Linked DNA regions of Homo sapiens: all the other regions are linked to region 2. Evidence: promoter capture Hi-C in human tissues and cell types (Jung and others, 2019). All regions are on one chromosome and are shown on one strand. Each heading gives the region's core, a stretch centred on a gene start or on the middle of the fragment in contact. The rest is flanking DNA. Distances are from core to core; before and after follow the strand shown.

Region 1 (3,363 bases), core at 764-3,263, 160 kb after region 2:
TCTCTGCCATTTTCCCCAGAATACAGTATATTTACTATCTTGGCAGAGGTGGGGATGCAGTTTCAGGAGCATGGCCTTTCTGCCAAAACTGCTAAACATATTCATTCTGATTATACATTTGGAAATGGGGGAAATGATCATAATGTGGGTTTTTGGACCCACTGTGAGAGCAGGGTTGGGGGTGTTGAGAGGGGAAGACACTGTGGTGGTACTTCAGGTTCCTGGGTATCAATGCCAACTCAGACCCTGTAACCCTGTTTCCCAAGTCAAAAACTTCTGCATATTCTTTTCCCAGTGTTTGGTTGTGATATTGTAAAATATGTATTTGGTCTTTAACCCCTTTTCCTGGAATATAACTTCTAAAATCCTTAAAATCTTCAAAGTGATGTCTTATTGTATTCCAATGAGTTGACTGATGGTTGGCATCCCCTAGGTAGCTTCAGGTTCAGGGTCAGTCAACAAAAAGACCAAAGCAGTATTAGAGGGTTGGAACTTTCAACCCCACCCCCAAACCTCTAGGGAGGACAGAGGGGCTGAATTTTAAATTAATCACCAATGGCCAATGGTTCAGCTAATCATGCCTATATATAAAGCCTCCATAAAAACCCAAAAAGACAAGATCTAGACAGCTTCCAAGATGTCAAACACATGAGGGTTTATAGAATGAGGGGTCCCCAACACCTGGGCCACGAACCAGTACCAGTCCATGGCTTGTTAGGAACTGGGCCTCACAGCAGGAGGTGAGTGGCAGGTGGGCCAGCAATACCGCCTAAGCTCCACCTCCTGTCAGATCAGCAGTGGCACTAGATTCTCAGAGGAGTGCAAACCCTATTGTGAACTGCACATGCGAGGGATCTAGGTTGTGTGCCCCTTATGAGAATCTAGCTAATGCCTGATGATCCGAGGTAGAACAGTTTCATCCCAAAACCATCCCCCCACCCCCCTCTGTGGAAAACTTGTCTTCTATGAAACTGGTCCCTGGTGCCAAGAATGTTGGGGACCGCTGTCCTAAATGGTGGCATGCCCAGAGAAGGAATGGAAGCTCTGCAACCTTGCCTTATACATCTTTTCATCTTTTTTTTTTTGAGAGATGGAGTCTTGCTCTGTCTGTTGCCCAGGCTGGAGTACAGTGGCACAGTCTCAGCTCACTGCAACCTCCGCCTCCCCAGTTCAAGCAATTCTCCTTCCTCAGCTTCCCAAGTAGCTGGGACTACAGGCATGCACCACCACACCCAGCTAAATTTTGTATTTTTTTAATAGAGACGGGGTTTCACTATGTTCGCCAGGCTGGTCTCGAACTCCTGACCTTAGGTGATCCACCCACCTCGGCCTCCCAAAGTGTTGGGATTACAAGCGTGAGCCACTGGGTCCAGCCATGTTTTCATCTATATTCATTGTAATATCCTTTAAATAAACTGAAATATGTAAGTAAGTGTTTCCCCAAGTTTTGTGGGCCACTCTAACAAATTAACCAAACCCAAGGAGCTGGCTGTAGACACCCTGATTTATAGCACAGGCAAAATAACCCAGGAATTGCAATTGACATCAGAAGTTGGGGGGGAGAGTCTCAGTGATTGATTGGTCAACCTGTGGGATCTGACACTGTCTCCAGGTAGACAGTGTCAGAATTAAAGTAAATTAGAGGATATCCAGCTGTTATCCACTGCAGAATTGCTTGCTTGTTGAGGGGAGGGAATTCCACACGTGATTACAGAAGAGTTCTGTGTCACTCATTGTGGTGTGAGAACAGAGGATGAACAGTGCTTTTCCACTCAATGATTAACTGATAAATGTCTCTTTCCATTGATAGTTTATGAGTCTAAGAACTATCTCAGGCTTAAAAACTGGACAAGAAATGGGGACTTTTCTTTGAAGTTTCTGACTTCAGCCTTCTGTTCAACCATTCTTGATCTCCCTTATATATAAGACAATACTCTTCTTGGTTGCCCATCTATCCTGCTCCTAGGACCACTCACATTCCGTTAGCCATCTCCACTTTGACCTTGCTACCCTTAAGGAAATTTACTCACCTTGCTTCTGAGAGTTAAGTGTTGCCACCTGGCCTCTGCTATGTCAGGATCCTATCATTCCCCCACTGCTACTAGGAAAACAGTTTCTTTTACATCTTGTATCAGCTTCGATCTAGAGAGACAGCCACTTCTAAATTTCTCAAAGATGCTGGTAACCCTTCATCAGTGCCTTTCCCATTGTCTTTATTAAAAAATAATTCCCAGGTCTTTCTGGGGTAGTCAGCTGGTGGGTTTACCAGTGTTATATAACATTCATTCTTGCATACCCATTTCCTCTAAGTCTTTTGGTCCTTTTTTGTATGGTCTGCCGTCTCCACGTCATTCAATATGGGCCAATGTTTTCTCCTAGCTCCCCAAAGCCATCTTAACATCATATTATAACTGCCTCATGGGGCTTTGACAAGACCTTCCAGAGTCACAGGAAAATGTCCCAATTATCAAAAAGTCTGTATTAATTCAATTCTTAATTCATGAAGCCACCCATACAATCACAAATTTATCTAACACATTTAATTTTGGAACAAAGGAGCAACTCCTTTAAAGTTTGAGAGTCGCATAAATATTTCATATACAGCTTAAACCTAAGCTTTGTAACGATTATTTTTGAGCAGCAGAAAAGGAAGGCTAGAGAAATGCTAGAGATGTCCTTACTAGTGACACATTCTTGCTGAAGAACAAGTTCTCTGGAAGTGAAACTCAAATAGGAGAGAACAAGAGATACAGGTAGGTATCAGTTCTGCTAGGGTCTTCAGAGAGACCGAGGGCCCCAAAACAGTGCTACTCAAAGATGATCTGCAGACTTGTGCTGGTCAGTGAACACCTTTTTTTTTTTTTCACCAGTCTGTGACATGGTGAATTAGAAATTGAGAGTGTTTAAAAACTTTTTAGCATTTCAATGTTGCTGTGATATCCAAGTACATGATCAATGGACTTAACCTACAGAACAGTCTGGCCAGTTTGGGTGCTGTCAAACTTGCCGGGTCGGCAGCACACAGTGTGAACTCCATACCTGTCATGGGCAATAGGAATGCATATTGATAAGTGAAGGACTGGAAAACAAAAAACCTGGTCCTTTACCATACATAGTTTGAGAAAGACTGCCCTAGAGTACCATAACTCCACCACAAGTCCTGGAATAATTCCAAAAGTTTTTGGAACAAAGTGTGACCTGAGGTCAACCTGCTCACATTCAATCAAAATCAAAATAAAAATGAGTGCCTTGGGAACAAAGATAAAGTGGACTAGGGCATCTATTTAGATTCCTGGAGTAAGCCCTGGCTAGGCTAGCAGAAGTGAGAATCTGTAAAAGAAAACTGGTAGGACAGAAGGCACA
Region 2 (3,204 bases), core at 630-3,129:
GACAGTCTCTCCTGGTGTCTAACCACAGGCTTTCCCGCTACTCCCCTCTCACTCTCTCCTTAACACACAGGGGCTGAACTGGTATCTGTTCCCTTCATTGTTTCCTCCCTCTGCCCATTCTCTCCCAAGACCAAATCTGAGCTCGGAGAGGGGGGCCATGAGAAGGCCCTGTTGGCCCCATCCTACCCACCCTTTCTGACTGTAACCCAGAGAGGGAAGGAGCGTGGAAGTGAGATGTGACCTACCAGGTCCCTGTAATGGAAAATCTCAACTGCAGGCCCGGAGGGGGCCAGTTATTTAGGGAATTCAGATGTTAGCCTTGTGCCCTGAGAGTGGATTTGCTAGAGGAGAGGCTGATAATCCCTCTGCAGGGAGTTCCCTCTGGGGCCAGAGATGGACCCAGCCCAGCCAGCAGGCACCTTAGGCCTCTGGCCAAAGCCCCCCTTCCCTCCCTCCCTTCCTCTCTGCTTTCTTTGCACTCAGGACACTTAGACCTGCCCCACTCCGCTGGCTTCCCCTCACTCCATCTCTGTGCCCAGAGAAACAGGGGTACTCCAGGGGAATCCTGTCCTCTGACTGTTCCCAGTAGAAGGCGGGAGCAGAATTTTTTCTTTTCTCTCTGCCCCTTCTGGGTTCCCCTTCCTCTCTGTGCCCCTCATCCTTTGGATTACTCATCAAATGAGCAGCAACAACACCCCTAGACCAGCTGGTCCTGTCCTGGGTCATCTCGTTGTCCCCAGTTTCTAGCTGGTATAAGGTTAAAGATACCCTTTCCAGCCCCAGGCAAAGCCTTAGGCATTTCTGGGATTGCTCCTGACTCTGATGGGCATCCTCACTCCTCAGACATTTCCAATCTCCCCCACTTCACTGCAGAGAGGCCTGTTCTCCAGCCTCAGTCCTGCATGCTGCAGCTTTGCTTCCCCTTCCCCACTGGAAGAAGGAAACAGTCGCTCTCCTTTCCCGTTCACATGTCTGATATTTGCTATGATATTGACCTTCACACACATCTTAGAGGTTCTGTATTTTCCTCTCTTTTGACTTCTCCCTATCACTACTCTACTCAGGCATAGATTCAGTCTAGAGCTCTTCAACAGCAATGAAACGGTAAACGAGGGGTAAACAAAACCCAGAGATGTCATCAGGTGCCTGCTAGGAGTCCCACCCGTTCCCCTCTAGCCCTGGCCTGCCCCTCCCTACCAGAGTCTTGATTCTCCTTCAAAACTTTGGAGAGGTTACATCTGGCAGGGTTTGGGGACACCCTCTTGCCTCCATCTCCAAACTTCCCGCTGCCTCCCGAGCCACCTTTGACTCCTCCTGGGCCCCCCTTCCAGGTGCCTCAAGTGCAGAGGTCAGCCTTCGGTTCAAATTCTATTTCTGGGCTTCAGTGTCCCTGCAACCTCTATAATAGAAGGAACAGAGTGGTCTATGTTTCTTTCTTTCTCTGGGAGATTGGATGTAGACTCGGGAGACCTGAGTTCTGGCTCTGTCTTATCAATTCAAATTGTTTAATCTCTCTGAGCCTCAGTTTACCCACTTGGAAAAGAAGAGTTAGGCCACATGGTCTCTGTCATCCTGGGATTCTGAGTCAACTGCTCCCCTTCAGCCAGATCCAAGGGGGCATATCCCCCCAACCTGGGACCCAGGCCCCCTTCCCTTGCAGCCTCTCTCAGTTGTGAGTGCCACAGGCCAGAGGGGGTTGAGAGGAGCCAAGGGGGGGCATGCCGTGGGACAAACGGGCTGTCTAGGGCCAGTGGCTAAAGGGGCGGGAGGGGAGGAGTCCTCAGGGATCCTGTTTCAACAAACGTTTCTTTCGGAGGAGGGGAAGGCGGGGGAGAGGGGGAGAAGGACCTATTTAAAGCTACCCTGTTGCTTTGGCTTTCTCTGTCTGCCAGGGTCTCCGACTGTCCCAGACGGGCTGGTGTGGGCTTGGGATCCTCCTGGTGACCTCTCCCGCTAAGGTCCCTCAGCCACTCTGCCCCAAGATGGGCCGTGGGGTGAGTATCCCTAAAGAGCAGGGGTCGCAGTCTAGAGGGTGAGGGAGGCTGCTGAGGAAGGATGAAGTGGGAATGGGATGTGGAAGGAGCGGGAGAGAGGAGCTGAGTGGGATACTTGGAACTTGAAACTAACAGTCTCCAAACTACCAATGTGTGTACAGATCCCACGGCGGTCACATACCCTAGTGCTCTCCTCTCCTCTGCACGCCCCAGCCCCCTGCCCACAGTTAGACCCACAGCCCACCACACATGCCCCCTCCATCTCTCCCTCCACCCCACTCCCACATCTCTAGTCCTTCCCTGCAGCAGTCCCTCCTCTCACTGCATCTCCCGGCCTCCCAGCTGAAAGGATGTTTGGCACTGTGAGTCCTCCTGTCTTTGCCACCTCCTGAAAATATCCATTCCTCTGGGAGTCCTAGCCTGAGAGGCTGGGGGTCCATTTTGAGGTTAGAGAGGGGCAGTAGAGCATCCGGCTCCCAGAGTCACCAAGTAGTTCCGGACACCAGCTCCAGGGGCCCTGAGTGCCAAGGACAGCTGGGCGGGGTGTGGGGAGGAAGAATGATGACCCAGCCCCCACCCCAGCACCCCTCCGGATGTCCCGAGCAGCATTGTCCGTGGGTTCCAAGCCATGGGCTTTGAGGACTTTCCCAGAGGCTGGTGACAGGTGACCCCCCCCCCAGTCCACCCGTCCATGGCATTCTGCAGCAATGGCTACACCAAGAGGAAGATTAACAACAATGGGGCGGGCAGGGAGAGGGCTTTGAATTCTTGGAAATGAAATTCCCATATGGAGAAGAGTGGCCCAATCCTTTTACATGCTGTGCCTGGCTGCTTTCCTTTTGTGGAATACTGGCAAAAGAGGACACAGAGGGAAAGGGCATGCTGCGGAACAGGAGGGTATGAGGAAGACTGTGCCTAGGGGGAGCCGTGGGTGTTTCTGGGCCCAGGAGGAGTCAGGCAAGGACATGTTATTGCACCTAGTTGAGCAGCTGGGAAATCCTGAGCCTGGACACCAGGGTTCCTGAGCTAGGGTTGGAGCCATAAATAGAATTGGAGTGCATGCATGTATCTGTGTGTCTGTGTCTGTGTGTGTGTGAGTGTGTGTCCTTGACCACGTGTTCTCCATAGGCGGGGAGTCCTGCAGTTACTCATGGATGAGTACCTGTGTTTGTGTCTCAGCAGGCAAATTTGTAAATGTACAAGCCTTCAA
Region 3 (3,347 bases), core at 393-2,892, 140 kb after region 2:
TAGAGGTAAACCCTATAGTAGCTTTCCAGATGGCTAAGAAAAAGCCAGGAAGAAAAAAAAAAATGGCACGTGAGGCAAATATGTATGCTTCACTTTAGAACTTGGCCAGACTTCCTTAAACAGTAACTTCAGAGGATAAACAGCAAATATCTAATCTAAAATGTTTGCATTGACCCAATCCACTAGACATACTATTAATACATTTCATTAATAAGATGACATCTTTGTCATATTAATTACTCCCCAATGCCCTATTGGCAACCTCAAGGCAGCCTCCGTTCATTAATTTATCTGTATCATAACACATTCCTGGGGTTAGATGGTACTTGAGAAATCTGGCTTCTGGCCCAGGAACTATGTCCTACAGAGGTAGAGATAAAAAAAAACTGCTGCAAAGAAGTGACTAATTCATAAAATTCATCACTCGCTAATTTTTGAAAAGCTTTCAAAGACTTTCTACTCACTCCAAGAGCAGAATGACTAAATCAATAAAGAGCAAGTAGCCTCCTTTTCTGACTGATTTTAACAGCAATGATGTTTCTTGGCTACATTTGTAAAAATAAAAGATGAAGTTTTTAATATTACTATAAAGCTAATCTAAAACTCACTGGCTTTTGGCTCTAAAATGAAAATATACAAAGTCACTACCCCATGCCTATTGCTGATTCAATTAATTCAGTTGCCTGTGTTCCAAATAGGTGAGGGTAAACAGCAGATTATCTTAGCTCACTGATAATCTGCTTTAAAAAAAAAAAAAGCTAATTCAATCTCAGAGACTTAAAAACTAACTCTAACACCAATGTTATGCAATAAAAAGTCTGGTTTGGATACCGTTATTTCTCTTTTATAATCTGGATATTTCCTAGACATGTTTAGAATAAACTTTTATACAGTAGAAATAATGGAGTAATGAATCTATCTACTGAAAGCATTTTAATAGTCACTTTATGATTTTAAAAGCCTATTACTCCCCTGATAGAATACAAGACTTAGAGCACGAAACTCAAGATCCCAGTCTTTCACAACAGGGTGCGCTTCTATACAATGTCTCCTACTAGAATCTGTTTGCTTTTAAAATGCCAGTATTGTTTTAAACTGGCAACAAAGAGGCTGCTTTCTTTCAGCTCTCTGTAGACAAGCTTCTGTCTTAGGTTGGTCCTACTCCACACTAAGGACCATGGCACTGGAACTGATTCTTTTTTTTGAGACTAGGTCTCGCTCTGTTGCCCATACTAAACTGCAGAGGCGCAATCTCAGCGCACTGCAGTGATCACTGCGCAATCTCAGCTCTACCTCCTGGACTCAAACAATCCTCCCACCTCAGCCTCCCAAGGAGATGGGACTGCAAGTACTTGCCCCATGCTTGGCTTTTTTTTTAAACTTTTTGTAGAGACAAGGTCTCAATATTGCCTAGGCTGGACTTGAACAACTAGGATCAAGTGATCCTCCCACCTTGGCCTCCCAAAAGTGCTGGGATTACAGCCATGAGCCAGCCGCACTCAGCCTGGCAGATTCTTATACATTTAATTGACTGCATTTAGCAGGGTGCAGTGGCTCACGCCTGTAATCCCAGCACTCTGGGAGGCTGAGGCAGGAGGATTGCTTGAGCCCAGGGGTTTGAAACCAGCCTGGGCAATATGGTGAAACCTCATCTTTACAAAAAATACAAAAATTAGCCAGGTACGGTGGCGTGCACCTGTAGTCCCAGCTACTCGAGAGGCTGAGATGGGAGAATCACCTAAGCCCAAGAGGTCGAGGTTGCAGTGAGCCATGATAGTGCCACTGCACTCTAGGTGACAGAGTGAGATCCTATTTCAAAAATAAATAAATAGACTGCACTTTAAGAGGTTGGTGGTGGGAACTAAAAGGTCACAAGCATTCTTAGCCTCCCACTCTAATCATCCTAGGAAATACTACCTAATAAGATGTCACAATTCTTAAGTAAACACCTAAAACCCTGGAAATATAAAAATATCTTCAAGCTGGGTGCTGCGGCTATGCCTGTAATCCCAGCACTTTGGGAGGCCAAGATGGGAGCATCACTTGAGCCGGGCAAGTAAGACCTCATCTCTTTAAAAAAACAAACAAACAAAAAAAAAACAACCAAAAATTAGCTAGGTATGGTGATATGCCCCTGCGGTCCCAGCTACTCAGCTGAGGTGGGAAGATCACTTGAGCCCAGGAGTTTGAGACCAGCCTAGGCAACAAAGTGAGACCCTATCTCTACAAAAATAAAAAAAACTTTAGAAAGATAAAAAGTTTACAGTGTGGTCCACAGACTAGAAATACTGATTTACTACATATAGATGTCACCTGGACATTCTTACCCAGCACATAAGGAAATAAACAGTCCAAGTTATCCCTCTTTCAAAGTATTTCCTTTTCTCCTCCCATCCTTTCCTTCACCCGACATGGATCTTCAGAGTTCATAAAAACACAAATGATACAAATGCAATCTCAACCCACCTCACCACCACCCTGGAGAATCCTTACCTTACAATGGAGAATTTAGACCCTGGATGATGGTAATGAAAAGTTCATCAAACCTAAAATGGTCACTGGTCTGAATGACACAGCTGCTTTCATTGTGATATTATCAGTACTTAATTTTCATGTGCCCTTGCCAAAAAGATACGAAAGAAAAGCCAACAAAAGGTTTAAAACTCTTCATCTGTGCTGTCATATTATTAAGACGGTCCAGCTGTGGAGCTGAAAAAAGAACTCTTTGGCCGGGCATGGTGGTTCACACCTGTAATCCTAGCACTTTGGGAGGCTGAGGCGGGCAGATCACAAGGTCAGGAGATTGAGACCACCCTGGCCAACATGGTGAAACCCCTCCTCTACTAAAAATACAAAAATTAGCTGGGCATGGTGGCGCATGCCTGTAATCCCAGCTACTCGGGAGGTTGAGGCAGGAGAATCGCTTGAACCAGGGAGTCGGAGGTTGCAGTGGGCTGAGATCGCGCCACAGCACCCCAGCCTGGTGACAGAGCAAGACTCGTCAAAAAACAAACAAACAAACAAAAAAAACCTCTTCATTCCTAACTCCCCAGCCCTGATTCACTTTTAAAAAAAGAGACCTTTTCCTCATACAGTTCTTTGATAATTTGTTGATGAGGATCACTGTATAGCCCAACAAGAAGGAAAAAATGTATTCCCTTCATGGCAAAAAAGGAAAGTATAAAGAATAGTTGCAGTAGAAGTAAACAACATTGCAGCAGAGAGGGAAAGAATTACAACACGGCCAACTCTGATCAGGTGTGCTAACAGAGAGTCCAAGATGAAGGAACCAATGAACAAAAAAATTTACTGATGTTTAAGAATACATTTTGAAATATACATACACC

What was found. The method cuts DNA at HindIII sites, captures the fragments that hold promoters and counts their contacts. A contact is called where the count stands out against the background at its distance.
Region 1: a contact is called between a fragment that was not itself captured here and the fragment with the promoter of ATP1A2 in region 2, in 2 of the 25 tissues and cell types used here (mesendoderm cells and neural progenitor cells).
Region 3: a fragment that was not itself captured here is called in contact with the fragment with the promoter of ATP1A2 in region 2 in 4 of the 25 tissues and cell types used here (H1 embryonic stem cells, IMR-90 fibroblasts, aorta and 1 more).

What each region holds. Positions count from the first base shown.
Region 1 is chr1:160,274,349-160,277,711 of GRCh38, forward strand. PEX19 (peroxisomal biogenesis factor 19) reads right to left here. Exons shown (of 8, transcript NM_002857.4): 8 at 2,459-3,363. Among named protein-coding and RNA genes, the nearest start is that of PEX19, 9.1 kb to the right of the region's middle. The HindIII fragment of the contact is 8,705 bases long and covers 1-3,363 here.
Region 2 is chr1:160,113,880-160,117,083 of GRCh38, forward strand. ATP1A2 (ATPase Na+/K+ transporting subunit alpha 2) reads left to right here and starts at 1,880. Exons shown (of 23, transcript NM_000702.4): 1 at 1,880-1,994. The coding sequence starts at 1,983. RefSeq lists enhancers at 1-618, 1,371-2,154. The HindIII fragment of the contact is 19,722 bases long and covers 1-3,204 here.
Region 3 is chr1:160,256,526-160,259,872 of GRCh38, forward strand. All of the region lies in intron 2 of DCAF8 (DDB1 and CUL4 associated factor 8), which reads right to left. Among named protein-coding and RNA genes, the nearest start is that of DCAF8-DT, 3.6 kb to the right of the region's middle. The HindIII fragment of the contact is 6,807 bases long and covers 1-3,347 here.